Regions from separate parts of the Homo sapiens genome. Here regions 2, 3 and 4 are each linked to region 1. The links are contacts of gene promoters, found by promoter capture Hi-C in blood cells and fetal thymus (Javierre and others, 2016). All regions are on one chromosome and are shown on one strand. The core of a region is centred on a gene start or on the middle of the fragment in contact, and the rest is flanking DNA. Distances in the headings are between cores, read along the strand shown.

What was found. The method cuts DNA at HindIII sites, captures the fragments that hold promoters and counts their contacts. A CHiCAGO score of 5 or more calls a contact.
Region 2: a contact is called between a fragment that was not itself captured here and the fragment with the promoter of LCA5L in region 1, in 4 of 17 cell types (non-activated CD4 T cells, naive CD8 T cells, activated CD4 T cells and 1 more). The highest score is 6.1, in non-activated CD4 T cells.
Region 3: a contact is called between a fragment that was not itself captured here and the fragment with the promoter of LCA5L in region 1, in 1 of 17 cell types (naive CD8 T cells). The highest score is 5.1, in naive CD8 T cells.
Region 4: a fragment that was not itself captured here is called in contact with the fragment with the promoter of LCA5L in region 1 in 2 of 17 cell types (non-activated CD4 T cells and total CD4 T cells); the score reaches 5.2 in non-activated CD4 T cells.

What each region holds. Positions count from the first base shown.
Region 1 is chr21:39,441,533-39,447,948 of GRCh38, reverse strand. It overlaps LCA5L (lebercilin LCA5 like), which reads left to right and starts at 2,171. Exons shown (of 11, transcript NM_152505.4): 1 at 2,171-2,224; 2 at 3,748-3,814. The region is part of intron 8 of GET1-SH3BGR (GET1-SH3BGR readthrough); the gene reads right to left. It overlaps MIR6508 (microRNA 6508), which reads right to left and starts at 939; the gene lies at 880-939. It also overlaps a transcript of SH3BGR not described here. RefSeq lists a silencer at 2,001-2,260. The HindIII fragment of the contact is 3,319 bases long and covers 1,077-4,395 here.
Region 2 is chr21:39,202,734-39,210,210 of GRCh38, reverse strand. BRWD1 (bromodomain and WD repeat domain containing 1) reads left to right here. Exons shown (of 41, transcript NM_033656.4): 36 at 64-216; 37 at 3,937-4,103. Among named protein-coding and RNA genes, the nearest start is that of PSMG1, 23 kb to the right of the region's middle. The HindIII fragment of the contact is 2,102 bases long and covers 2,023-4,124 here.
Region 3 is chr21:39,276,183-39,282,855 of GRCh38, reverse strand. BRWD1 (bromodomain and WD repeat domain containing 1) reads left to right here. Exons shown (of 41, transcript NM_033656.4): 9 at 2,608-2,708; 10 at 4,043-4,113; 11 at 5,505-5,605; 12 at 6,643-6,673. Among named protein-coding and RNA genes, the nearest start is that of BRWD1, 34 kb to the left of the region's middle. The HindIII fragment of the contact is 4,684 bases long and covers 1,530-6,213 here.
Region 4 is chr21:39,224,882-39,231,474 of GRCh38, reverse strand. BRWD1 (bromodomain and WD repeat domain containing 1) reads left to right here. Exons shown (of 41, transcript NM_033656.4): 26 at 2,039-2,163; 27 at 2,893-2,975; 28 at 6,278-6,389. Among named protein-coding and RNA genes, the nearest start is that of PSMG1, 45 kb to the right of the region's middle. The HindIII fragment of the contact is 4,038 bases long and covers 858-4,895 here.

The DNA of each region.
Region 1 (6,416 bases), core at 922-3,421:
TACTTCTGACCTCCAGAAATGTGAGAAGATAAAGTTCTATTGTTCTAAGCCCCTAAGTTCGTGGTAGTCTGTTATGACATCCCTAGGAACCTAGGAACCTAATATAGAGAAATAAAGGCTATGCTTTTTATGTGGCATGATGGAGATGGCCCCAGAATAGTGAAAGGCCATGGCTCTTCTCCTTCCATTGTGTACACAGAAAAGAACACCCCTTCGAAAGCAAAAGCAAAGGCCAGGCACGGTGGCTTATGCCTGAAATCCCAACATTTTGGGAGGCCGAGGCGGGCAGATCACTTGAGGTCAGGAGTTCAAGGCCAGCCTAGCCAACATCGCAAAACCCCATCTCTACTAAAAATACAAAAAGAATTAGCCGGGTGTTGTGACTCACACCTGTAATCCCAGCTACTCAGGAGGCTGATGCAGGAGAATCACCTGAACCCAGGAAGCGGAGGTTGTGGTGAGCTGGGATGGCGCCACTGCATTCCAGCCTGAGCGATAGAGTGATACGTCTCAAAAAAAAAAAAAAAAAAAAGCAAAAGCGAAAGCAAAGAAAGATTCAAGGGCAGATTTGCAGTGACTTATCATGTCTACAGACTGGGAAAAGCTGGTAGAAAAGAGGAGGAAACCATTCTCAGGAAACTCTACCTTTCAATTCCTCCAGTCATGAGCTCCAGGGTTGGATGCTCCCGCAATGGCAAAACTCCGCTCTCGTTACTGTCATGGGGCCACCACCACCCACCAAGCATCAGCCCATCTTTCCATAATGTCAAGTCTAGAGTGACATTTGTCTAATGTTTGCCTACCTGGAGATGTTGCCCCGCCCACCACCACCAGCAAAAACAACCGGCACCCATCTTATACGGATAATTCCCTACCTAAGGAGTTCTAGAAATGCATGGCCCACCAAAACTCAGGGTGGGTCATGCATTTCTAGAGGAAGAAATGGTGATATGGAGAGAAAGCTTGTCCTAACCCACTTCTACCAAAGTAGGATTAAAGTCAATTTGAAAAAAAACACCCGTTTCTCCTTTTATATAAAAACCAAATGCAGAAACTATAGAGAAATGTAATAAGCTTGACTCTACACAAATACCAAAATACACTGTAAACAAAATTAAAGGTAACTGACAAATTGAGGAAATATTTGCAACGTATATCACAAGCCAAGTTTTCAAGCATCAAAAGTCCTTACAAAACCCATTTTTACAAAGATGAATGTCAAGTTTTAAAATGGACAAAAGACAGGAAAATGCAAATCACACAATAAGGACAAATGGCACTCAAGATATGGGAAAAAGTCTATTCTTCCTACTAAAAAGGAAGTGAATACAATTAAAGATGCCAATTTTTGACAATAAAATGGGCAAAAAAATTTTAAGAAAAAAGAGAATTTCCAATGCGGGCCAAGTATCGGGACACTTACTGGAAGGCAGTTTCCCTCTACCTTTAGAAAGCCTCAAAGTGAGCATATGCTTTGGCCCTGCAACCTCGCTTGTAGGAATTTATCCTAAGGAAACAGTCAGGGGTGACCTCAAAGATTCATCTGCAAGGATATTCAACATGGCTTTGATGCAGGAAAAAAAGTAAATAAATAAAAGGAAACAATGTAAGTCTTCCTAAATTATGCCAAATTCCTATGCTGTCATTAAAAAACATCTATAACTCCATCATCTAGGTGATTTTGACTTTTGCTTTGGACTTGCCTGTACATTTCTAAATTCTCTATGCCAAACATGCATTGTTTTGTCATCAGATTTTGTTTTACAAAAAAAAAAAAAAAATCGTCTTTATGACAAGGGGTTAATAGGGGAACTGTGCTTCCCAGGAATTGACCAGGCGTCTACACCCACCTACTGACTCAAGTTACCTAAGACTGACAGAGCCTTAAGAGGTCAGGAGAGCGCCAGAGCGCGTGACAGGCTCCCTCGTCTCGGTGCGGCCACGCGGGAAGGCAGGGTCCCGGGCGCCGAACAGGGACGGCAGGAGGATCGTTTACAGACGTCTACACAAGAAACTCACTTCCCGTCACCGAAGACAAACGCGAGGCCACACTGACCTCCAGGCCCAAGACGCCCCTCCCCGCCGCGGCTCCTGCTGCCCGAGTGCGCATGCGCGCGCCCAGCCCCCGCAGGCCGGCGCTTCCCAGGAGGCCCCGCGCGCGGGTTTCCATGGGGACGCGCCGGCGCTGCGGCGTTGGCGCAGTCGTGGGAACAGCGCGGAGCAGGTAACGGCCCCGCTGCTGCCGTCGTCCCCCTCAGCCGGTTACCCTGTTACAGCCCCAGCTCTGGGCCCTTCCGGACCCTCCTGCTACGCTCTTTCTGGGCTTCCAGTATCGCCGGTCACTCAGTCCTCGCCCCTGCCTGCCTCGCTGGCGCCCCGCCGTTTCCTCCTCGCGGCACAGTTTGCCAAGGAACAGCTACCCCGGCTCGGCAGTGACCGGGCGCCCCGGCGACACACGTACTCTCAGGCCCGCTGGGCAGGGGGACGGCCTGGGCCGAGGTGACCTAGCGCTCCCGGGGCCGCGCCTGGGTCTGGCGAGGGGGCGGAGGCCGATCTCACCGCCGCCCCACCGAGGGAACTTTGGGGTTTTTCTATCTGAATCTTCTATCTGACCTCCGATTTTGCCTCTGCTTACTTGCTGTTTTGCTTTGGATTAGTTTTTCTTTCTAACCTTAGCGCTGGCATCTCCCTATCTCGTAGGAATCTAAATCTTTTGAAATGTCTTCTCTGTCTGTGTTTGTCCCCCACTCACCCAGCCTCGGGGCTCTTTATCCACACCCTCCCCTCAGCGTGTTAACGTTTCGTTGCCACACTTAAGCCAACGGTTAACTTTTTTCAGAGACCAGTTTTCACGGCTGAATGTGAGCTTGAGCCTTTTTTCTGTCTACACTCAATCCCTAGATGAACTCATCCAGTCGCCTGTACTCAGAGCCTATCTGAATTCCAGTGAGCCCCAAGTGTGCATTCCCAGCCCTCGCCCCTCCCCTGAACACCAGATCCCTGCATTTAGCTGCCTGCCACATCCCTACTTGGATGTCTACGGCATCTCAAACACAGCTCGTCCAAGATAGCGCTCAATAATTCCCCAAGCCAAGCCTGTCCTCCCACAATCTTAATCCATCATAGTTGCTGGAAATTCCATCCTCCAGTTGCCCGAGTCTTGCATCCTGTTTGAGTCCTGTTTTTCTCTTCCTCACCTTCAGTCTGTCAGCACTGCCTTCAAAATGCACCCAGAATAGATTCACAATTCTACCATTTCTCTCAACCGCCACTGTCACCACCTTGGTCCAGGCCCCCATCATCTGGTGCGTGGATTATTTTACTTGCTTCCTAATTGGTTTCCCTGAGTCTGCCCCTCCCCCACTTGAGCATGACAGTCTTAATGGTATTTCCCCGTTCTCTGTTATTTCGTATGAGTAAGTTTTTTAAAGGATTATATAAATTACAATTTCCTTATATAAATTACAACTTCCATAGGTAAAAGTGCAGTATTTTCAGTATGTATTTTGCAAATTGCAACTTTTAAACCGGGTCAGCAAGGCCATATAAGCATCCTGCTAACAAGCTAAAAATGTAAAGACACCCCTTAGCTTTGTTAGGTATAAATATGACAGTGCCCCTGGAACAGAACTATGGCAAGAGCTTTACAAGGGACTGTCCTGAAGAACAAAAGAACCCAGAGCCTTCTTCCCAGCGCAAAGACAGGAATCATGTAGGAGTTTAAGCTCTTCCTTTTTTATTTTTTAGAGAAGCACCAAAAGAGGCAAACTGAGATGCAGACAAATGATCATCCGTATGCTGATCATTTTGAATAGTAAGTACCTGGGTGCTGATACCGCGATCAATGTGACAGGTCCCTGCCCTCAAGGAGCTAAGGCCCCTAGCCAATCTCTCTTTTTTTGTTGTTTTTTTTTTTTTTAAGACAGAGCCTTACTCTGTCGGCCAGGCTGGAGTGCAGTGGCAAGATCTCGGCTCACTGCAACCTCCATCTCTGGGCTCAAGCAATTCTCCTGCCTCGGCCTGAGTAGCTGGGATTACAGGTGTACGCCACCATGCCCAGCTAATTTTTGTATTTTTAGTAGAGATGGGGTTTCACCATGTTGGCCAGGCTGGTCTCAAACTCCTGACCTCAGGTAATCTGCCTGCCTCGGCCTTCCAAAGTGCTGGGATTAAAGGCGTGAGCCACTGCGCCCGGCCCTACCCTTGCCACTCTCTTAAACTCCTAGCCCCATCTTTTCTCTTTTGCCATCAGGTAAAACCCCAATTAACCAAAGTAACAGAGTAGGATTGCCACGGTTAGCTGAGGGTCTGTAGGAGATTGCATTTCATAAATGACCATTTTCCTCAGATTTGATCTCCCACCACGCCCTTGTGCTGTCACTTCATAGAGAAGCTTGAAGCTGTCACATGGGAATCCCCTCATTCTTCAGCTCCCAAAACTGCAAGCCTTACTTATATCTGTTCCTACCTTCCTTCCTCCTCCTAACCAAGGCCACTCCCTCTCCGTGCTTTGGATCCCATCGCTTTCCACTCGCCAAAAACTCTACCCTGTCAGGTATACATTCCCTCTCCTGTATGATCACCTGTTCCATCTCAGCTGGCTCTTTGCCATGGTTTTGAAGCATGTTCAAGTCTCCCATCACAAAAGAGAAAAAAAGAATCTTCTTTGACCCCACGTTCCCCTTCAGTTTCCAGTTATTGTCCAATCCCTTATCCCTTTCGACAGGCAAACTTTAAAGAACTGCCATATTCAATGCCTCTATTATTTGTCTCTCACTCCTCAGCCAGTATGGCTTCCCTCTTCATCTCTGCTAAAACAAAAACCAGGAATGAGACTTTTTCAGGCTTTGTCTTGCTCAATCTCTCAGCGGCATCTGAAACTGCTGCCCCCATTTCACTCTACAAACACTGTCTTCCCTTGGCTTCTGTGACCATCCCTGACTCTTCTGCTTTTCCTGCTGCCATTCTGGCTCACCCTCCTCTCCCAGGCTCCTTAATATTGGAGATTCTCAAAGCTCGGCATCTGTTCCCATTTTATTCTCCATTGCGCCCCTTCATCTAGCACAAGGCACAGATTCACACGCACAGCTTTTAAGTTCCAGCCCTGTGCTCTTGACTCCTACCTTTCTCCAACTTGACCCTTTCTCAGCTAGACTCGTACGTTCAGCTAGCTGCGTGACAGTGTTTCTTAATACCACTCAGTCTCCTCCAATTCAACATGCACAAAACCAAACAACCCCACTTCCCAACCCCAGCTGGAACCTCTTCCGTTGTACCTAGGATTCCTCCTTGACCCTTATCACACCCCAACACCCAGTGAATCCTTAAGCCCAGGTGAGGTTGTCTCCTGGGCATCTTTCACATCTCTTCATTGTCGTGGACACCCAAGTGCAAACCACCACCTTCATTCAGCCTGCCGCAGTCCTGTACCAGCTTGTCTCCCCACATTCCCTCTGGCTTTTCTCGATTCTTCACCCTGCAGCCAGAGTAACCTTCAGAAGGCAGAGCTGATTATGCCACCCCTCCCGCCTCCCTCTTTTGCCTACAGTTAGCTTCCCATTGCCCTTGGATTAATGATCCACATCATAAACACGCCTTCCGAAGGCCCTGCAGCTGTTCACCCCCGCCTGCGTCTCAAGACTCATCTGAAACCGCTGGCCCTTCTCACTGGGCTTCAGCCACATGGGCCTCCTCCACCCACCAGGCCTTGGCATTCTTTCCTCTCTGTCTGCATTGTTTTTCCCTCCTCCCTCTCATCCTCTCTTGCCTAATTAGTTCCCACTGACCCTTCCTATCTCAACTCAGACAGTACTTCTACAGGGATAACTTCCCTGATCGCTGTCAGGATCAGGTTTCTTTATCTTCACAGAGTTGTATCTCCTTCCTTGAAGACACTCTGGACAGTCACTATTATGATTAGTTCATTACTGACATAAGGCCCACAAAAATAGAAACATTTGCTGTTTGTGTTCATCATTGTATCTCCACACCCCACATAGTGCCTGGCACATAGTAAGCACTCAAATGGGTGCTGAAAGAATGAATGAAATGAACATTCTAATATGTAAGAGATACTAAGCGCCGTGTGTTTTAATACAATTCTATTAAAATAGAATGAAAATCTAGTAAAAATAATCAGGCAAACACTGAAAATTAAAAAGAATGTTGTGTCAGGGTAGCTAAAAACGGGTACTTGTGTAAAGATTTGTAGCCCTTTACTCAGTGCAGTACATTGCACTTGCCACCACTTGGTGGAAGTAGAGAGGCACGGGTTCTTATCCTGAAGGTGACTAGGGTGTCAGTCGGGTAGTGAATTCAAACATTTGTTCTAAAATATATAAAGTTGTTAAATTACCAAAACCTACATAGCATAGCTAGTCTGTAACCATCCAAACTTTGAACGTGGCACATTTTCA
Region 2 (7,477 bases), core at 1,824-4,323, 240 kb after region 1:
TGCATTTACATTTCTAAAAGCAAGAAATGAATCTATGAATTAAATATTGTGTTTAAAACCTAGGACTACAGAGATATTATAGATACCCCAATGGATTTTGGAACAGTAAGGGAAACTCTAGATGCGGGAAATTATGACAGCCCTTTGGAGTTTTGCAAAGACATCCGGCTGATATTTAGCAATGCAAAAGCGTATACACCAAACAAAAGATCAAAGGTAATTTTTTATGTGGTTTATTGAAAAAAACTGCCTGATCTGTGTAGATAATTTTCCAATGTAATAGTAATTTTTTCCAGTGTAATTTTCCACTGTGTAATAGAGGTTAGAACATTAAAGATAAGTGAATAAATTAAGACTATTATAAAGAAAAGAGCTTCTGCTACTGCTCATATAGCTTCAGTTTTTGCCTTTCATCAGTTGATGTTTATCATAATCTCCTCAAATTTTATAAGCAAGTGGGGATTAATGGGAGTAGGCATCAATAGAAAGTGAACAAATTTGATACACAGAGTAAGAGTCTCTGTGTTTTGTATGTATAAGGATCTTAAGTGGATTGGAAACATAGATCGAGACTGTAAGAATATTAAAAGTAAAAAGGAAAATCTGATTGTGAGACTGCTGACAGCATAAGAACATTTGGATTTGAAGAAGGAACACATGAGCTATCAGATTAAGACCACAAATAATGTTACAGAGCCAGTGGAGGCTCTTTGCTTGATGTGTTAGAAGCTAATATTATGACACAGGGTTTTTCTTTTTCTTTTTTTTTTTTTTCTAGCCTACTCAAGTGAAGTGGTGACACTGGGTTTTTGAGAATAAGCTTTATATTGAAAGTTGACTCCTAAGGAGACAGGAGTGAATTTCAAATCTGACTCCGGTGCTGGCTTTAAAGCAGTATTTTTATTTTTTATTTTTTTTTAAAGAAAAGGTTCAGGGCATGGATTCTGAGATTAGCAGGTGATTAATGGAAGGAAAGGAGAGGTCTGGAAAGTCTTTGGGCATGTATAGTTATTTCTTTATGTTATCTGATGGGTTGCGTGTGCAAATTTGGGGGAAGTTAGTGTGAAGCATGCTGGAAATTCAGGCTCTGATGTCAGCAGGCTCATTCTTTGCAGACTCCACTTGGCCATACTGGTTTTAACCAGTTTCAGCCAGTTCTTCTTATCTCATAAGCAGAGGGAGTTTTAGTGTTTTATAGTAGGTTGGGTTTCTTTCTTTCTTTTTTTTTTTTTGTCATTTTGTAAACTTAAGAATTTTTGTTAATTGACTTCTTTAACTCTTTGGGGCATGCAGTTTCAGTAGAAGGTTACTAAAGTTTTGTTAACATGTTACACATTGGGTAACTTTTCAAAACTTGATGAGGCCTGTAATCCCTGGAATTTGGGAGGCCAAGGTAGGCAGATCACTTGAGGTCAGGAGTTCGAGACCAGCCTGGTCAACATGGTGAGCCCCCTTCTCTACTAGAGATAAAAAAATTAGCCCGTGTTGGCGCTTGCCTGTAATCCCACCTATAGGCACGAGGCATGAGAACCGCTTGAAATGAGGCATGAGAGCCACTTGAACCTGGGAGGCAGAGGTTGCAGTGAGCTGAGATCATGCCACTGCACTCTAGCCTGGGCAACAGAGCAAGACTCCAGGTAGCTCATGTGTTGAATAATTGTAAAAAGTCATATTTAAAGTAAAATACTTGTTTGATCTTACAACATTTTTTGGTGTCTACAATCAGTGACATTTAACTGTTTTGCTTTAACTGCATTTCCCTGTCATTACTTAATATTAGACTCCTCCTGCATTACTGCCTCTGGTCTCAATTTGAGAACTCTTTCTTGGATTCAGGATCCACACTGCTTGCTGGATCAGTTTAACGTTCAAGGCTAACGTTTCCAAGCTTGGATTTTTGTCAAAGTCACCATTTGTAAGACTGTTTTTTTTCAGCGACAAAATAAATTTCATTCAAGTCTTCCCTGCGCCCCTCAAATACATGTTTGAGGACACATACCATACAGTTCACCATTGAAAGCTTATAGTTCAGTGGTTTTTGGTATAGTACATTGTCAGTTGTTCAAAACTATGGTTAACTATATATAACATAACATTTGCCATTTTAGCCATTTTTATGAGTACAATTCAGTGGCATCGTTTATAATCTTTCTAAAACCTTTTCATCATTCCACACAGAAGCTCTGTAACCATCAAGCAGTAATTTCCCCTCACCCCCAGTCCTTGGAAACCTCTAACTTTCGGTGTCTGAATTTGCCTGTCCTAGATAATTTCATATAAAAATTGAGATCTTACCATATTTGTCCTTTGTGTCCAGCTTATTTATTTCACTTAGTGTAATGCCTTAAAGGCTTATGCATGTTGTAGCATGTATCAGAACTTTATTCCATTTTATGGCTGAATAATATTAAAGTGTGTGGTTATACCATATCTTATTCATTCATCTATCGATGGCCAGCTCGGCTGTTTCTATTTCTTGACCATTACGAGTAATGCTGCAGCAAATTTTGGAATACACGTATCTCTCAGAAACCCTGCTCAATTCCCTTGGGTATAGACCTAAGAGTAGAATTGCTGGGTCATGGGATAATTCATGTTTACCTTTTCCAGGAACCACTACACTGTTTTCCATATTGGCTGCACCTTTTTACATTCCCGCTGGCAGTGTATAAAAGCCACAGTTTGTTCACATCCTTGCCAACACTTGTTGTTTTTGGAGTTTTGTTTGTGTGTGTGTGTGTGTGTGTGTGTGTGTGTGTTTTCTTTTTTTTCTTTTTTTTTTTTGAGCCTGTCTCACTCTGTTGCCCAGGCTGGAGAGCAGTGGTGAGATCTTGGCTCACTGCAACCTCCAACTCCTGAGCAATTTGCCTGCTTCAGCCTCCCGGGTAGCTGGGACTACAGGCTTGCGCCACCATGCCCGGCTAATTATTGTATTTTTAGTAGAGATGGGGTTTCACCATATTGGCCAAGCTAGTCTTGAACCCTTGACCTCAAGTGATCTGCCTGCCTCGGCCTCCCAAAGTACTGGGATTATAGGCATGAGCCACTGTGCCTGGCAGAATAAAATTTATATATATGAAATACTGAAAATAACTGTCAAAGATCATTTCAGATTAAGTATAACAAATTTCACATTCATTTGTGAGCATATATATATGTATATGAGAAGCATGTAAGAAATTCGTATATCTCACATACTTTTTAAAAAAGTTTTCTGGTATTGGAGTGTCTTCGCCATCCACTGCCATGCACAAGAATTATATTTAAGTTTTGAGCATTAGACTTTTGCACTTATTTTCAGGAAAAGTCGTGGAGGAGGATAGAGTAGTTCTGTACATACATAGCTGTATCCAAAAGTATTTAAGATTTGATGTTATTTAATTGTAAACATTGTTAAAACAAATCTTTCATATGCATTAACGTTCTAGGTTATACTTTCTGCTACTGGATGCAAGGTATTTTTGTTTCATTTTTAGAATTAGGTGGCATTGAAAACAGATTGCAGACAGAGATGGGTATATAAAAGTGCTTTTGTTCCCTTGCCCCAAAGAAAGACAGCGCTTTTGTAGCCTAAATAGCAGCCTTAAAACCATTCAACTTCCCATCTAACTTTGGGAGAAGGGTATATTTTGGGGTTTGTACATACAGATGTTAGAATAGGCAAAAACAGTTGAGATTCACTGACATATAGACACAAGTCCTGAATATAGATGCTTGACTTCAAACTACTTTCTTATCATCTGAGAGGTATGTATTTGATACTTCTTACTTCCAGATGTCATTAAGGGAAGGGGGTTGGAAACAGAAGAAGTGGGTGACAGCCATTACCTATAAGCAGTGATATAATACATTGCAAGGGATCTCAATGATTACAATTATTTCTTAAGTACTTTTAAGGCTATTTTGTAATTCTACTTTGTTTTTATATCCTTGCAGATTTATAGTATGACCTTGAGATTATCTGCCTTATTTGAAGAAAAAATGAAGAAAATCTCTTCTGATTTTAAAATTGGTCAAAAATTCAATGAAAAACTTCGAAGAAGCCAGAGGTTCAAGCAACGGCAAAATTGTAAAGGTGACAGTCAGCCTAACAAAAGTATCAGGTAAACTGGTTATGGCAAGCTTGCTTTATTTATTTATTTAATTTTGGAGAGAGTCTCACTGTGTCACCCAGGCTGGAGTGCAGTGGCATGATCTCTGCCTCCCGGGTTCAAGTGATTTTCCTGCCTCAGCCTCCCAAGTAGCTGGGACTACAGGCGCACACCATCACATCTGGCTAATTTTTGTATGTTTAGAAGAGACAGGGTTTCACCATGTTGGCCACGCTGGTCTCGAACTCCTGACCGCAGGTGATCCACCCACCTTGGCCTCCCACAATGTTGGGATTACAGGTGTGAGCCACCACGCCCAGCCTATTTATTTATTTTTTATTTATTTTTGGAGACGGAGTCTCTCTCTGTTACCTAGGTTGGAGTGCAGTGGCATGATCTTGGCTGACTGCAACCTCTGCCTCCCGGGTCAAGCAGTTCTCCTGCCTCAGCCTCCTGAGTAGTTGGGACTACAGGTACATGCTGCCATGCCTGGCTAATTTTTTGTATTTTAGTAGAGACAGGGTTTCACCGTGTTGCCCAGGCTGGTCTCGAACTCCTGAGCTCAGGCAATCCGCCTGCCTCAGCCTCCTAAAGTGCTAGGATTGCAGGTGTGAGCCACCGCGCTCAGCCCTATTTATTTTTTAAGACAGGGTTTCACTATGTTGCCCAGGCTGGGGTCTAGTGATATGATCATGACCACTGCAGCTGCAACTTTCTGGTCTCAAGCAGTCCCTCTCACCTCAGCTTCCCGAGTAGTTGGGATAACAGGGGTGTGTCACCAAGCCTGGCTAATTTTTAAAAATTATTTTTTGTATAGATGGGGTCTTGCTATGGTGCCCACGCTGGTCTTGAACTCCTGGGATCAAGATCCTTCCACCTTGGCCTCCCAATATGTTGGGATTACAGGCGTGAGCCACTGCGCCCAGCCTGTATGCATTTTTTTAAAAATTTAAGACTGTGTTATTTAATCTTTAGAGTACTGTACATTCTGAAAAGACTAGTCATGGGTTTTATAGCTTGAAAGCATTTCTGTGAATATAGAGCTGTTGTATTGGTTTGTAATTCTATAAATATGTAAAATTATAGATTTTTTCAAATCTTATTAAGGATTATTTAAAGTGTCATTTGTATTTTGCATAAGAATTGGCTCTTTAATATAGAGTCGGAGTCCCCAGCACCTGCTCCCTGTGTAGACTGGGCCACACAGTAGGATGTGATTGGCTGGCAAACAAGCATTACCACCTGAGTTCTGTCTGCTGTCAGATCCGTGGGGGCATTCGATTTTCATAGGAGCAGGAACCTTTTTGTAACTGCATGCGAGGGATCCAGGTTGTGTGCTCCTTATGAGGATCTAATGCCTGATGATCTGAGGTGGAACAGTTTTGTCTTGAACTCTGCCCACTCACTGGCCCCAGTCCCAGTCCATGGAAAAACTGTCTTCCACAAAACCGGTCCCTGGTGCCAGAAAGCTTGGGGACTGCTATGTAGAGAATAATGTGATTTTTATGTATGGTCTTTTGAGCATTTGATTGTGTAAGGGAAAATGTACCCTTGATACAATGTACCTCAGTATTACTGAGGATTATTTGTAAAGAAATGTAAAATGAAGGATTTATTAACTTTCTCAGTAATTGTATATTAATTTACATTCTATATTCTTTGACTATGTAGTTTAGATTAATATCACATTTATAGGTACTTTATGTTGTTACAGTATAAAAATTGAGTTGTGCAATGTTTAGTTTGTTTCCATTTATATTTTCAACTGTGCAGTATATCCCTTGATGGGATTTCCTTGTGGTTGCTCTGGGGACTACACTATGCATCTCAATCTATTGCAAACAATCGATTTTATATTAATACTATTTTTATTACAGTACATATAGGAACTTGGCTCTAGTATAGCTTCCTTCCATCCCCTTCCTAGGTGGTGGTGGTATCAGATCACTTTTTTTTTTTTTTTTTTGAGATGGAGTTTTGCTCTTGTTGTCCAGGCTGGAGTGTGTTGTTGTGCTATCTGTTTTCTGTGCCCTCTCCATCTCCGGTTTTCGCGCTTTTTTTGTGTCTGCGTCTCGCGTGTCTGTGGTTTTAGGGGCCCGCGCCCCCGCGCCGATGTTTTTTTTTGTTTTTTTTGTAGACGGGGTTTTTCCCCATTTTGGCGGCTTGTCTCAAACTCCTGACCTCAAATAACCCACCTGCCTCGGGCTTCCAAAGTGCTGGGATTACATGCATAAGCCACTGTGCCCAGCCTTATATTTACTTTTGTTCTCTCCCTTGATTATTAACGGCATTTAAAATTTTTGATATTACAGCCTTGACAATTATTGCTTTAAAGAATTGTGATTAACTTTAAGCTTCAATGTCTAGATACCACTTAAAAGGCTGTTTTGCTTTTGTTTTAAGAAGCAGGGTCGGCTGGGCGCGGTGGCTCACGCTTGTAATCCCAGCACTTTGGGAGGCCGAGGTGGGTGGATCACGAGGTCAGGAGATCGAGACCATCCTGGCTAACATGGTGAAACCTTGTCTCTACTAAAAATTACAAAAAATTAGCCGGGCGTGGTGGTGGGCGCCTGTAGTCCCAGCTACTCAGGAGGCTGAGGCAGGAGAATGGCGTGAACTCGGGAGGCGGAGCTTGCAGTGAGCAGAGACTCTGTCTCAAAAAAAAAAAAAAAAAAAAAAAAGAACCAGGGTCTTGCTCTGTTGCCCAGGCTGGAGTGCATGGTGTGATCATAATGTCATCGTAATGTCAAGCTCCTGGGCTAAAACAAGTCTCCTGAGTAGCTGCGATCATAGATGTGCACAACTATGCCCAGCTAATTTTTAAATTTTTTGTAGGCATGGGGTCATGCTATGTTGCCCAGGCTAGTGTTTGAACTCCTGGCTTCAATTTATCCACCTGCCTTGGCCTCCTAAAGTGCTGGGATTACAGGCATGTTCGGCCATTTCTTAGCTGTTTTAAAGGAAAATAGGATTATCTCAATATTCATTCACCCATATTTCTCACATGCCTTAAACTTCCATTCTCCTTTCTCATAATTCCTGGCCTAGTGGCCAACCATGGTGAATGGGTGCAGTTAGATGTAAATAGTCTGGTCTTGGGACAAAAATCATTTTGTTCTGATGCCTTTTTTTAACTTTTCCTGTTTAGGTTTTGTTGATTTCTCCTCTTAACCATATTCTGTCTTTAGGGACATAGAAATAAGAGAGGAGAAAGTTGGGTCCTATTGAGGCTTACATTGGTAGTATGAATGAATACCTATATTACGTAAATGTTGGTTCCTCTTAGCATTTAATCCAAAGAATGTAAGGTATTCAAATAATTTTCTGTAACTCTTACTTGGAACATTGATTCATTACTCCAAATTTGAATAACAGTACGTTAAATT
Region 3 (6,673 bases), core at 2,622-5,121, 170 kb after region 1:
TCCCGAGTAGTTGGGATTACAGGCGCCCACCACCATGCATGGCTAATTTTTTGTATTTTTAGTAGAGACAGGGTTTCACCATGTTGATCAGGCTGGTCTTGAACTCCTGACCTCAGGTGATCCACCTGCCTTGGCCTTCCAAAGTGCTGGGATTACAGGCATGAGCAACTGTGCTTGGCCTCTAGAATTCTCAAAGTACTCTGCAAGGTTGCGAGTTTTACTCTGATGTTTTAATTAAAAAAAAATTTTTTTGTCCAATTAGCAATTCAGTGTGGAAGGTGTTTAAATTTTTTTTAAAGTGAAAGCAAGTTTATTAAGAAAGCAAAGGAATAAAAGAATCTTCAATTTTAATTAACAAAAATATCCAACTACTAATATAACTTTAATTATACTACTTTTTCTCATTACTTTTAATGAGATAGCCTGCAAAGCTCAATGTTAGGCCACATTCTGGAACATATCTACTTAGATATAAACAATCACTTTCAACATTAAAAAAAATCCATAATTTCTTCCTTACTTTGCTTTCTGTTAATGGCACTATTAGTCTTTCTTTTCTAAGCTCCTTCTTTGTCTTGAATGTTTCTTGAGTCAGCAAGTTTGTTTGCTTTTTGAGACAGAGTCTCACTCTGTTGCCCAGGCTGAAATGCAGTGGTGTGATCTTGGCTCTTTGCAACCTCAGCCTCCTGGGTAGCTGGGACTACAAGCATGCGCCACCATGCCTGGCTAATTTTTTATTTTATTTTATATATATGTTTATATACGTATGTGTATATGTCCATATATACGTATACGTGTATATATACATATGTACATACATATACTTATACATAGACGTATATGTTGACATATGTGTATATATACATATTTATATACATGTATTTATATGTATACATATATGTCTACATATATACACATGTATATGTATGTATACGTATATATATACATGTATACATACATACATATATATATATATTTTTTTTGGTAGGTGAAGGAGTCTTGCTGTGTTGTCCCGGCTGGAGTGCAGTGGCGCCATCTCAGCCTGCTGCAACCTTTGCCTCCCGGATTCAAGCGATTCTCCTGCCTCAGCCTCCTGAGTAGCTGGGATTATGGGCATCCGCCACCACTCCTGCCTACTTTTTATGTTACAGGCATCCAACATCATGCCCGGCTAATTTTTGTATTTTTAGTAGAGGTGGTGTTTCACCATGTTGGCCAGGCTGGCCTCAAACTTCTGACCTCAAGTGATCTGCCTGCCTTGGCCTCCCATAGTACTGGGATCACAGCCGTGTGTCATCACGCCTGGACAATTTTGTATTTTTTTGTAGAGACAGGGTTTCGCCATGTCACCTAGGCTGGTCTTGAACTCTTGGACTCAAGCAATTCTCACTCCTCGGCCCCACAAAGCGCTGGGATTACAGGCATGAGCCACAGCACTCGGGCGAGTCAGCAAGTTTTGATGCTCCTCTCTTTTGGTCTTTCCTCCCCATTCTAGGGGGAGAAGGGTGGAGCTGTATTCCAGTTAAGCTTCTTGCTTCTTAGATTAACTGGGTTCCCTCTTGGCTTTTTATTACATCTTGCCTCTTCTTTTTCAATCAATACTGTATATTGCTGTAAGACAAATCGTTTGGCTGCTTCTGGTGTTTTTACTTGAAAAGTACAGTTACCCTTTAAGCTGCTTTGATTACATCCAGATTCTCTATTCATTTACCCCATTGCCGCATGACTTTGAGAAATGAACACTTTGTTCATATAGATCTTTGTTTCTATCATATACCATATTCCCCCTCGCTTTTGAACTTGTGCTGATATTATTCCTTTGCTTAGTGTGTGTTTGTTTTCCTTGCATTTTCCTACTATTTAATCCTTCCTAGATGTCTCTAGCTAGTTCATCTTCCTTTCTGTAGCTTGCTTGTTTAGCACTTTTGGTATTTTATTAAGTACAGATGTTAGCCTTATTCTGAAGTTGCGCTGCAGTATAGTTCCTGTGTTTCCTTATTTTATGGCTTTGTTTTCAAAATATTTAAATCATTGACCCATTTCGAATGTATCCTGATGTAGTCTGAAGAATGGACTTAGTTTTTTTCCAGATTACTGCACAATTGTAATACCATTTATGCAGTGATCCATTGTTCGCCCAACAGATTTGAGATAATACCTTAATTGTACTTAAGTCTTAGATTAGGATTCATGTTTTCTCCCATTTTTCCTTCCAGTTTTTCAGTCAGCTTTCCCAGGTTGAATAGGGTCTAGTTTTGGATTGTATTTTTTCCATTGGTCATTCTATCAGTGTACCCTGTTTTGTCTGATCATTTTAATTATTAACACTCTGTGATATGCTTTAATATCTAGTAGGACTAGATCTCCACCTTGTTAAAGTTTTTCTGGCCAGTCTTGTTCATTCTGAAAATAGGCTTATTGAGATCATATTACATATAAATGAATGTGGAGAGGTTATGATTTTTTCACTACGGTAGTATTACCTATATTTTGGATTTCATGTGTTTATTTCCTGAAACTGTCAATTGAAGTTAAGTTTGCAAGACTATTAAACTGTAACTTAAGTAGAAGTTCTGGAAACTGAATTGTATATGTTTTACTTTTTAGTTTAGCCCGATGGCCAAAGGCTCTCAAAGATACATGGTTTCCACTGGTGCTGATGGGACAGTTTGCTTTTGGCAATGGGATTTAGAATCCTTAAAATTTAGGTAAGTGGCTTTAATTATGTAACAGGTTTTGTTTTTTAATGTAGTTACAGTTTAATCTAATGAAATGAAGTTTTATTGTTATGAGAAATTGTGTATTGTTGCTTTTTTTTAACCTTTGAACTTAATTTTTATTATATACAGCATATGTGCCATATTGACTATTTCCTATTTATAATTATGTAGATAGCAGGATTTGTAAAAGAAGCATAGCTTTTCTATCTTAGCACATTTTTGCAAAGACAAAGTAAGGCATTTAAAATAATAGGTATATAATTGGAAATTCAGGCAGGAACATTTGAGAGTCATAAGACCTGTATTGTATACCTGTGCTGTCTAATACAGTAGTCACTAGCCATATATGATCGTTGAGCACTTTAAATGTGGCTAGTGCAATTGAGGAACTGAATTGATAATTTAAATTTAAAACTTACAATTGATTAATGTATTAAAACATTTTTTTTCCTTTTGTTTTCGTTTTCTTTTTTTTTTTCTTTTTTTTTTTTTTTTTTGAGATGGAGTCTCACTCTGTTGCCCAGGCTGGAGTGTGATGGCGTGATCTCGGCTCACTGCAGCCTCTGCCTCCTGGGTTCAAGTGATTCTCCTGCCTCAGCCTCCTGAGTAGCTGGGATTACAGGTGCCCGCCACCACGTCCAGCTAATTTTTGTATTTTTAGTAGAGATGGAGTTTCACCAGGTTGGCCAGGCTAGTCTCAAACTCCTGATCTCAGGTGATCCACCCGCCTTGGCCTCCCAAAGTACTGGGATCACAGGCGTGAGCCACCACGCCTGGCCTGTTAGAAAATTAAGCATATCTTGAATAACGAGTATGTGAAATTTTCAATGAGTTTTGGGAAATCCAAATATAGATAAAATATTTTTGTTAAAAATTGAGTTGTCAAATTGAGATGTATTTTGAGTCTCAAATACACACTGGAAAATTTCAAAGACTTAATATGAAAGTATCTTATAATTTTATTGATTTGGATTACATGTTGATATTTTGGGTGTATTGGGTTAAAGGAAATATGATTAATTTGATCTTTTTATATTTTGTAAAAATACATGGAAATCTGTGGAAATATTTGATATACAATAAGGTATTATAGAAATAAGATTATAGCTGGGTGTTGTGTGCCTGTGGTCCCCAGCCACTAGGGAGGCTGAGGCTGGAGGGTCCCTTGAGCCCAAGAGTTTGTGTCTAGTGTGGGCAACATGGCGAGACCCTGTCTCTTAAAAAATTATAATATTTAAATATGCTAGATTAAAACTAATATTTTAAGCTGTGTTAATGTGGTAAAATAATCTATTTTAAAGCAGCATCTTCTTCTTTTAAAGCCCACGTCCCCTGAAGTTCACTGAAAAGCCTAGGCCAGGCGTTCAAATGCTTTGTTCTTCTTTTAGTGTTGGTAAGAACTTCTTCACATTTTTTTCTTAGTTTTTTTTTTTTAAACATCTATTAAATGACCACTTGGTTGCTAAGAACTTTTATTAGCTACATGGTAAATGACTTCTGGTGTTTATTTCATTAGGTTCAATTTATGATGTTTATTTTGTTAGCCTTGTTCTTCCAGTCCTCCAGTCTGCCTTTCTCTGATTTCTGGTAGTAATCAGTGATATAAGAGATGGCTGGTAAAAGGGAGGCTTGAGGTGTCCACACAAGTGATTCCTATGCCAGTACTATGTGTATGATAATCTAAATTTGTGATTTTCTTTGAATAGGCTAAACTGTGTATGTTTGATAGTTTAAATTTATTTCCCACACATAATATCTTGATGAAATTATTCTTTTTCAGTTTTTGTACAGTGAACTTGTGTGGTAACCTTTCTCTTTTTTCGGATAGGTCAAAGACTTTTCCCTCATAAAATCTGAAAACTTGAACAAGCTAGGGTTAGGTATGTAGAATTGTTTAGAAAGCAGAACTTCTTTTCTTAAAAATATTTTTAGAGCGCTGGTGCTTAATTGGCATTATATTGCCACCCTTAATAATACAGATGGGGAGGCCAGGCACAGTGACTCAATGCCTGTAATCCCAGTCCTTTGGGAGGCCGAGATGGGAGGATTGCTTCAGCCCAGGAATTCGAGCCCAGCCCTGGCAACATAGGGAGAACCCATCTCTAAAAAAAAACAAAACAAAAATTATCTGGGCATGGTGCACACCTGTAGTCCCAGCTACTCAGGAGACTAGGTGGGAGTATTGCTTGTGTCCAGGAGGTTGAGGCTGCAGTGAGCCATGGTCACACCACTGCACTCCAGCCTGGGCGACAGACTGAGACCATGTTCCCCGCCCCACCAGCTGGCTCACGCCTGTAATCCCAACACTTTAGGAGGCTGAGGCGGGTGGATCACCTGAGGTCAGGAGTTCGAGACCATCCTGACCAACATGGTGAGACCCCCATCTCTACTAAAAATACAAAAAATTAGCTGGGCATGCTGGTGTGCTCCTGTAATCCCAGCTACTCAGCAGGCTGAGGCAGTAGAATTACTTGAACCTGGGAGGTAGAAGTTGCAGTGAGCCGAGATCACACCATTGGGCTCCAGACTGGGCGACAGAGTGAGATTCTGTCTCAAAAAAAACAGGAGGAGATTGTGAATGTTTCCAGATTGAATTAATTTTGTTTTTTAAAGCTACAAGTTCAGCTTTATAACCTCTATATAGTGAGTCAGAAAATGTAACTGTTGAGATAAACTTAGTTTTAGGGTAAATGATCTTTCTTTTTTATATTTTAATATGGAAATTTGATTTGTTCAGGTATTTGTTATAAACTGGATGTTTAAACCTTACCATTTTTATTTCAGGTGGTATGTTTTTAGCCACAGGTAGTACTGATCATGTAATCAGAATGTATTTTTTGGGTTTTGAAGCACCCGAAAAAATCGCAGAACTTGAAAGCCACACTGTAAGCATCCACGTTTTAAAATCCTTTAGATTAATTGTTAATACTATTCCTGTTATTGCTAAGGGGCATTGTTATTGGCTCTACTTTTATTTTTAATTTTTTTTCTGTTGAACAAATGAACTGTCATTTATAACTTTTTGATGGTATTAAGTTTTAAAATATTAAATCATAGTTGCATTTCTGAGATAAGTCATTGCTTGTGAATGTTATCTTAAATTTTTGCTGAATTCTATTTGACAGTTAAAATATTGTTAGAGATGTTTGTATATTTATAAAAATGAAAATGTCTAGGTACAATATAGTTTTTGTTAATTCTATTCTAATTTTAATTTAAGCATACAAGCAATTATATTTAAAGGGGAGGTATGTCACTGGCAACTCAGATTAGCACTTGAGAGGCCTAATATTTTACAGTGGTTATTTTAGCTTTATGTTCAAAATCTTGATTATGACAGTTGATCTGGGTGGGTTAACTTTAAGTGAGCCTGTTTATCTAACCAAGCCCATGAAATAAGAATGTGATTTTAATAATGCATAGTAAGATAGAAAACTGTCAGTGTTCTGAAGTACTGGTCAGGGTTGGGCCATCTTTTCTTTTATTTGAAGCTTTTGGGAAGGCAGTCCACATCCAGAGGTTATTTGATAGATACAGATTTAAATAACTTAAAACAACAATTGAAAATGCCTTATTTTTAGCTACTTTAAAGCCTATATTTTGAGCACTTTCCACACATTTCACTTCCATATAAGTCATCTTAAACAGATGTAATTATAAATACTGCTTTAAGTTTAGAAGCAAGGCTTTTTTTCCTGTTAGATGTGCCTTTCTTTGAAATGAAAGCTGTATTTTAGTAGTCTTAGGTTTGTAGTTAGTCTTCACTTAAAATTATAAAACATGTTGAATGACAGGGCTAAGCAACACAAGTGCAAATTTTGCTTGTTAAAGCAAATAGGCTTCTAGCATTAAAACTTCATTTTTTCAAATTCACAGACCATGTAGATGATCATTTTTGTATTTGTCCTTTTCCCCCCTTTAGGATAAAGTAGATAGTATCCAATTTTGTAACA
Region 4 (6,593 bases), core at 1,627-4,126, 220 kb after region 1:
ATTCAGATATTCCACAATAGTGAATGAACCAAATCATGGTGCATTCACACAGTCACTTACTATGTACAGCCCATCTTGTACTTGAAGGTTGAAAAATATTTGTTGAATGAATGATGGATACATTTTCACAGTGTATTACTAATAGGAAAAATGGGGTGTGAAGTGGTATTTCTGGTTATGGTAGCAAAATTTTGAAAACATTTGCAGCCAATCAAAAGAACAACATCAAAATGTCAATGGTGATGATCTGTGGGGTAGTAGTACACGTGTTTTTTTATTTTTTATATTTTTATTCTACAGATTTTGATACTTTTAAAAACTTAGAAAATGAAGAAAATGCTAGTTATTTTAACAAATATAGCTGTTTTTAACACTTATATTCAACTTAATGGCTCTGCTTGTATAAGTTAGGCTTTATATACATTGGCGGTTTTATTTATGTCTGTTTAACTTAGGACTGTGTACCTAAGTACAGTCCATCCTCATTATTCTTGGATTCTGTATTTGTGAACTGCGTACTTGCTTTATTTGTAATCCCCCAAACAGTACTCTCAGAGCCTTTTGGTCATTTCTGGACATGCTCAGGGTGGTGAAAAATTTGACTTGCCTGACGAGCATGTTTCTAGTTGAGGTTGAACAAGGTGTTGCTCTGCCTTTTTTTTTTTTTAAGCTCTCGCACTGCAAACAAGTGTCCTTTTCATGGTCTATTCAGTGCCACATGTTTTCCATTTTTGTGCTTTTTCTGGTGACTTTGCTGTTTAAAATGGCCCCTAAGCGTAGTGCTGACATGCTCTCTAGTGTTCTTAAGTGCTAGAAGGCTGAGATGTGCCTTATGGAGAAGGTATGTTAGATAAGCTTCATTCAGGTATCAGTTAAATGTTTGCAAATCAACAACATATTAAATAAGGTACCTTTAAACGGAAACACGCATAAAACCAAGTTACGTATGCACTGGTTTACTACAGTGTTGTGACCAGAATTTTGCAGGAACCTATCCCTATATATTCTCTATAGCACTGATTTAGTATTTTATTTCAGTGTTCTAGGTGACTATAGAACATAACTGCTGTGAATAATGAAAACTATGCTTAGCACTTTGTTTGGTACATTATAATAATAACATTTGTTCAGTGAATAAGTGGATGAATGATCTGTTGTATTCCTAGTATCAGAGAAGCAGACACTGGGGGGAAGGTTGACTATGGCAAATCCATTTGATGGATACTCCATCCAGGTAGGGACTTTCACTTGTTTACCGTCCTGTCCCTACTGCCTAGAAGAGGTCATAGCATATGGTAGATTCTCAACAAATATTACTTACTGAATGTATTAGGCAGAAACTTAATATCAAGATTTTGAAGAACACTTATGAATAAGTAGAATGCTTACACATTTTCACTGTATAATATAAAGCTATATAAATAAAAATGTGCATTGACTGGGTGTGGCAGGCCACACCTATAATCCCAGCACTTTGGGAAGCTGTTGTGGGAGCATCACTTGAGCCCAGGAGTTCGAGACTAGTCTGGACAACATAGGGAGACCTGTCTCTACAAATAATAAAAAATTAGCTTGGTGTGGTGGCATGTTGTACCTGTAGTCAGTCCCAGGTACTCGGGAAGCTGATGTGGGAGGATTGATTGAGCTCAGGAGTTTGAGATTGCAGTGAGCCATGATTGTGCTACTGCCCTCCAGCCTAGGCAACATGGTGAGATCCTGTTTCCAAAACAAAGCCAGAAGGAAATATGTTAGATTTTTAACAGTGATTGTCGTTAGATATTGCGCTAATCCGAGATTTGTGTTTTCAATCTTACACTTTTGTAATGTATTTTCTAAAGGATGTTCTTTGTATTAGAAACTGTATTAAATATGTGGAGATTAACTTTAGCAAAATTGAATGTAATTAATGGTATTAATTAAACTTGTCTGCGGGTTTGGAAGCCTAAATTATGAGTTTACTTAATATAACAGTATGTGGAGAATTATAGTATTAAGGAATTGCTTTTATTTTAACCATTAAAAAATATGTCTGTTAAAGGATCAAGAATTGGTTAAAATAGTTGGAATACGATATGAAGTTGGGCCCCCTACACTCTGTTGCCTAAAACTAGCATTTATAGATCCAGCAACTGGAAAACTTATGGACAAATCTTTCTCTATTAGGTATGTATTATTTTTTAAAATGGAATTACTTAAATTTAAATTTGCCATTTTGCTGATTGAATGATTAGCATGCCCTTCCCATTTAACTCCAGGGTAACTGGTAGAGCACTGTGGATAGCCTAAGATGTGGCTCGAGCTTCTGATGGCTAGGAAACCCATCCCTGACCCTGAAGTCATAGTAGGCATGTCACAGTTATAGTTAAGTGTGGGCAGTCTGTTTTATATGGTTTTCATGCTGCTTATGTGGGTGGGGAATTCTGACATACGGGCCAAATTTTTTCTGCCCTTTGTTTTTGAAAAAATTCAGAATAAATAATTTCCTACACCTGTGCTGTCTAATAAGGTTACCACTAGTCACATGTGGCTACTGCTCACTTGAAATATGGATGGTTTGATTGAATGTCTTAATATGTGACTTGGCAGAGTATGAGGCATAAACATTTTTTTTTAAAGAAATGAATGTGTTGTGAATGTACACACTGCATTTTGAAGAGTAGTTATGAAGAAAAAATATGTCAGATCTCTATTTTGTTTTGATAACATATTGAAATAATATTTTGGATATATTTAAAATATGCTATGAAGTTTACTGTTTTACCTTTTAAAATATAGCTGGTTGAAAATTAAAAATTACATTCGTAGATCTCATGTTTCTTTTGGACAGTGCTGCTTTTAGACTATATAACCTGCTATGTAGAGAGTTTAACAATTTTTTAAATTTTTGTCTAGATATCATGATATGCCAGATGTTATTGACTTTCTTGTATTGCGTCAATTTTATGATGAAGCAAGACAGAGGAATTGGCAGTCTTGTAAGTCTATCCTTACTAAGTTTTATATACCCTTAAAAATTAATCTGTTTTATTGGTCTACCTTTTTGGCTGTGGGACTCTTAATTATAGTATATACAAACATGTAAATTCCAGAAGAGATATAAGTGACCTATAAATATATTTTGCTTACGGCTTGGTACTTACTGATTATGCAGACTTTCTTGGTAGGGGCCGGGGGACGGTGGGCATGGCACGCATTTTCTCCCTAGGTCACCCAGGCTGGAGTGCAATGGTGTGATCTCAGCTCACTGCAACCTCTGCCTCCAAAGTTCAAGCGATTCTCTTGCCTCAGCCTCCTGAGTAGCTAGGATTACAGGTGTGCGCCACTACGCCCGGCTAATTTTTGTATTTTTAGTAGAGACAGAGTTTCACCATGTTGGTCAGGCTGGACTCGAACTCCTGACCTCATGATCCACTCACCTCTGCCTCCCAAACTGCTGGGATTAGAGGTGTGAGCCACCGTGCCCAGCCCTATTATGTAGACTTTTTTAGACGAGCAACTTTTCTTCTGTTCTTTTGGTTCATGACGTTTGGAAAAGATTATTTTCACTCCTTGACTATAGGCTAGGGTAGACTTACTTCCTTTTAGACTTCCCTGTACTATATTGTATATAATTATCTTTGATGTAACATTGGCATAATTTACACAATTATACTAGGATCTAAAATGATCAGAAGGTTGAAGAGTAATTTCAGATTTCACACTGAAAATGTTCTGGTATACCCAATTATTTTACCCTTGATATCATAACAACGTAGACTTAAATGGGAAGACTTGACACTGTTTTGTTAAGAAATAAAAAATTCATATACACTTTGCTTTATAACCATGTAATGTATAGGTGGGCAGAAAAATTAAAAAATTAAAATTACCTCAATGTAATTTTACACATTCGAGTAAAATTACACATTGGAGTAATTTTAGTACCTCAATGTAGGTACTAAATTACTCGAATGTGATTTTTGTGATGATCATTTAAGGAGGGCTCACTTATTCAGAGTTGTGTAGATTATTAATCTCAGGATATAATTGATGATTGAATGACTGTCATTAGGCTGGGTAGTAATAGCAACTGTTAATAGTAACTGTAGTACCTGTTTTCACAGGTGTACAAATATATGTTCAGTGTGTAATGCTATCCAGGGAGCTTGTGTATTGAGTTAGAAGTAGGATGGTTCGTTCTTTTATCAGTTCTTGGATTTTTGTTAGAAATACTAAGTTTTACCCAGGCTGTGTCATCTGGTGTACACATTCATAAATGATGTTAAGACATTGATCTTTCTAGTTACTGCAGTTTCTTTCTTTCTTTCCTTCTTTTTTTGGACACAAGGTCTTGCTCTGTTGCCCGGGCTGAAGGGCAGTGGTGCAATCAGAGCTCACTGCAGCCTCAACTTCCTGGGCTCAAGCGATCCTCCCACCTCAGCCTCCTTTTTGGCTGTGGGACTCTTAATTATAGTGCATACAAACATGTAAATTCTGGAAGCTGCACCATGTGCAGCTAATTTTTAATTTTTTTTGTGGAGACAGGGTCTTGCTGTATTGCCCAGGCTGGTTTTGAATTCCTGGGCTCAAGCAATCCTCTTGCCTCAGCCTGCCTAAAGTGTAGGAATTACAGGTGTGAGCCACCATATCTGGCCACTGCTGCCTTTTTGTGTGGTACTACAAGAAGGTAAATTTTAGATAAAGTCCCTAATCATCCTCATCTGACGTGAAAGATTGTCAGGGCGTGTGGCTCCTCTTTATAGATTATTCTCCTGGTAACATCTACACAAGTAATCAAGATTATTTTGGGAGTAGATGCAGAGAAAATTTTTCTTGAAGAAAAACATACAGCCACAAAAATAACATGAAGCAACATTAGCAGGTTGTATAGTTGTGTTCCAAATAACTTTAAAGCTTCCCAGCTATTATGATTTTTCAGCTCCCATGAGGTGTAAGAGGCTCTCATTTTTGCCAACATGTCCATTAATTTTTTTAAAACTGAATTATCTACAGTTAAACTCTAGAGATGGAGTCCCAGATGCCTCCTGTAATTTAGTGGTTTTTGTTTTATTTTTGTGGTTGAGAAATTATTGGACCAGACCTGTTATACTACACTTTAATTCATTTTGCTTCCCCATTTTTGCGTGGAATTTGAGTAGTATGGCAAGAAGAAGTTGCTTGTTTTCATTTTTACAGTGGATTTTTATCCTTCTCTTGAAAGGCCAAAGTAGGTTTATTTGAAAAGCCTTAACATAAGATTACCAGGGTGATCAGCTAGCAAAAACATAGAAAAGACACTTTTATTATGAGAAAACTTAATTTTTTCAGGCTCCTTTTTATTTAAAGGGTTGTTTTTGTATGAAGAAATATTTTTATCTAAACTGAAATTATCTTCTAGTATTAGGTAAATAGCAAGAAAAATATACACTTAATTTTTTATATCAAAGACTCTCTTCTAACATGTTTTTATGTTTGGCCTCTCAAAATTGAGGCAGCTGATTTTATGACAATAATTTATTATTATTACATTCAGTTGTAATTAATGTTTATGTTAAATTAGGGTATTAGAGATTTGGATAAAATCATGGTGTGGTTTGTCTTAAATTGTAAGTTTAAAGCTATACTAGTCTCCTTAGATTTCTTTCAGGGGCTATGGTTTCAAGTGATTTTGAAGTAAAATATATGTAAAACTCATGTTTACATAAGTTTGAAAATATGCTAAAGACTAAAACATGTAGGTCTAGTAGTTATGGCATTATTTTTTTTCAAACCTTTGAAGAATTCACTGTAAGCATACTTTAATTATTCAAGACTGTTTGCCAGGTATATTATATTCTTTCTTGGGGATAAATTGTAGCTTTAATTTTGATTATTTCTATAAAACTTTCCTTGAGAAAAGAACTGTTGATCTATATCCCGAAGAATCATCAGTGCTGGATAGGTGACTTTTATTGTTTCATTGGTTTTGTTTTGTAAATGGTGGGAAGGGTAAGAAGGAAGAGATATGGTTACTGCAGCAGTTCATGTTTCTATTGTAATGAATGTTAAACACAGATCTAGTGCAGTTTATTTCACTGGTTGAAGTGTTAGAGTTGTAAAATACATCTAGAAATGCATTTAATCTAAAAGTTAAATTTTTTATGCCATATTTTTCTTGGTTTGTTTAGGAGCGCTGCTTGCCTGTTTTTGTATTGTGCTTTTGGCTTTTTTATCTGTATCATATGGTATTTTGTAGATTAAAAAAATGTTAATGAATGTTAGCAGAGAAATGCCTCAGACTTGATCATTTCTCTCCTAGGTGACAGATTCCGCTCTATTATTGATGATGCTTGGTGGTTTGGAACAGTGTTAAGTCAAGAGCCATATCAACCACAGTATCCTGATAGTCATTTCCAGTGTTATATTGTTAGGTTTGTATACAGATGAAAACTAATCATTTCCCAGTAATTCAGTGTGGCAGGTTGCTGTATAAATAATACATTTCTGGTTTTTAAAAAAACATGGTTTTTATCTGTCATTAAGTCATGTCAGGCTGACCCGAAATGTCTCTCAGACATGCACCTACTCTTTGTTTCCTATTCACCAGTACTCCCCTTGGTTCAGGTTCTGCTTGC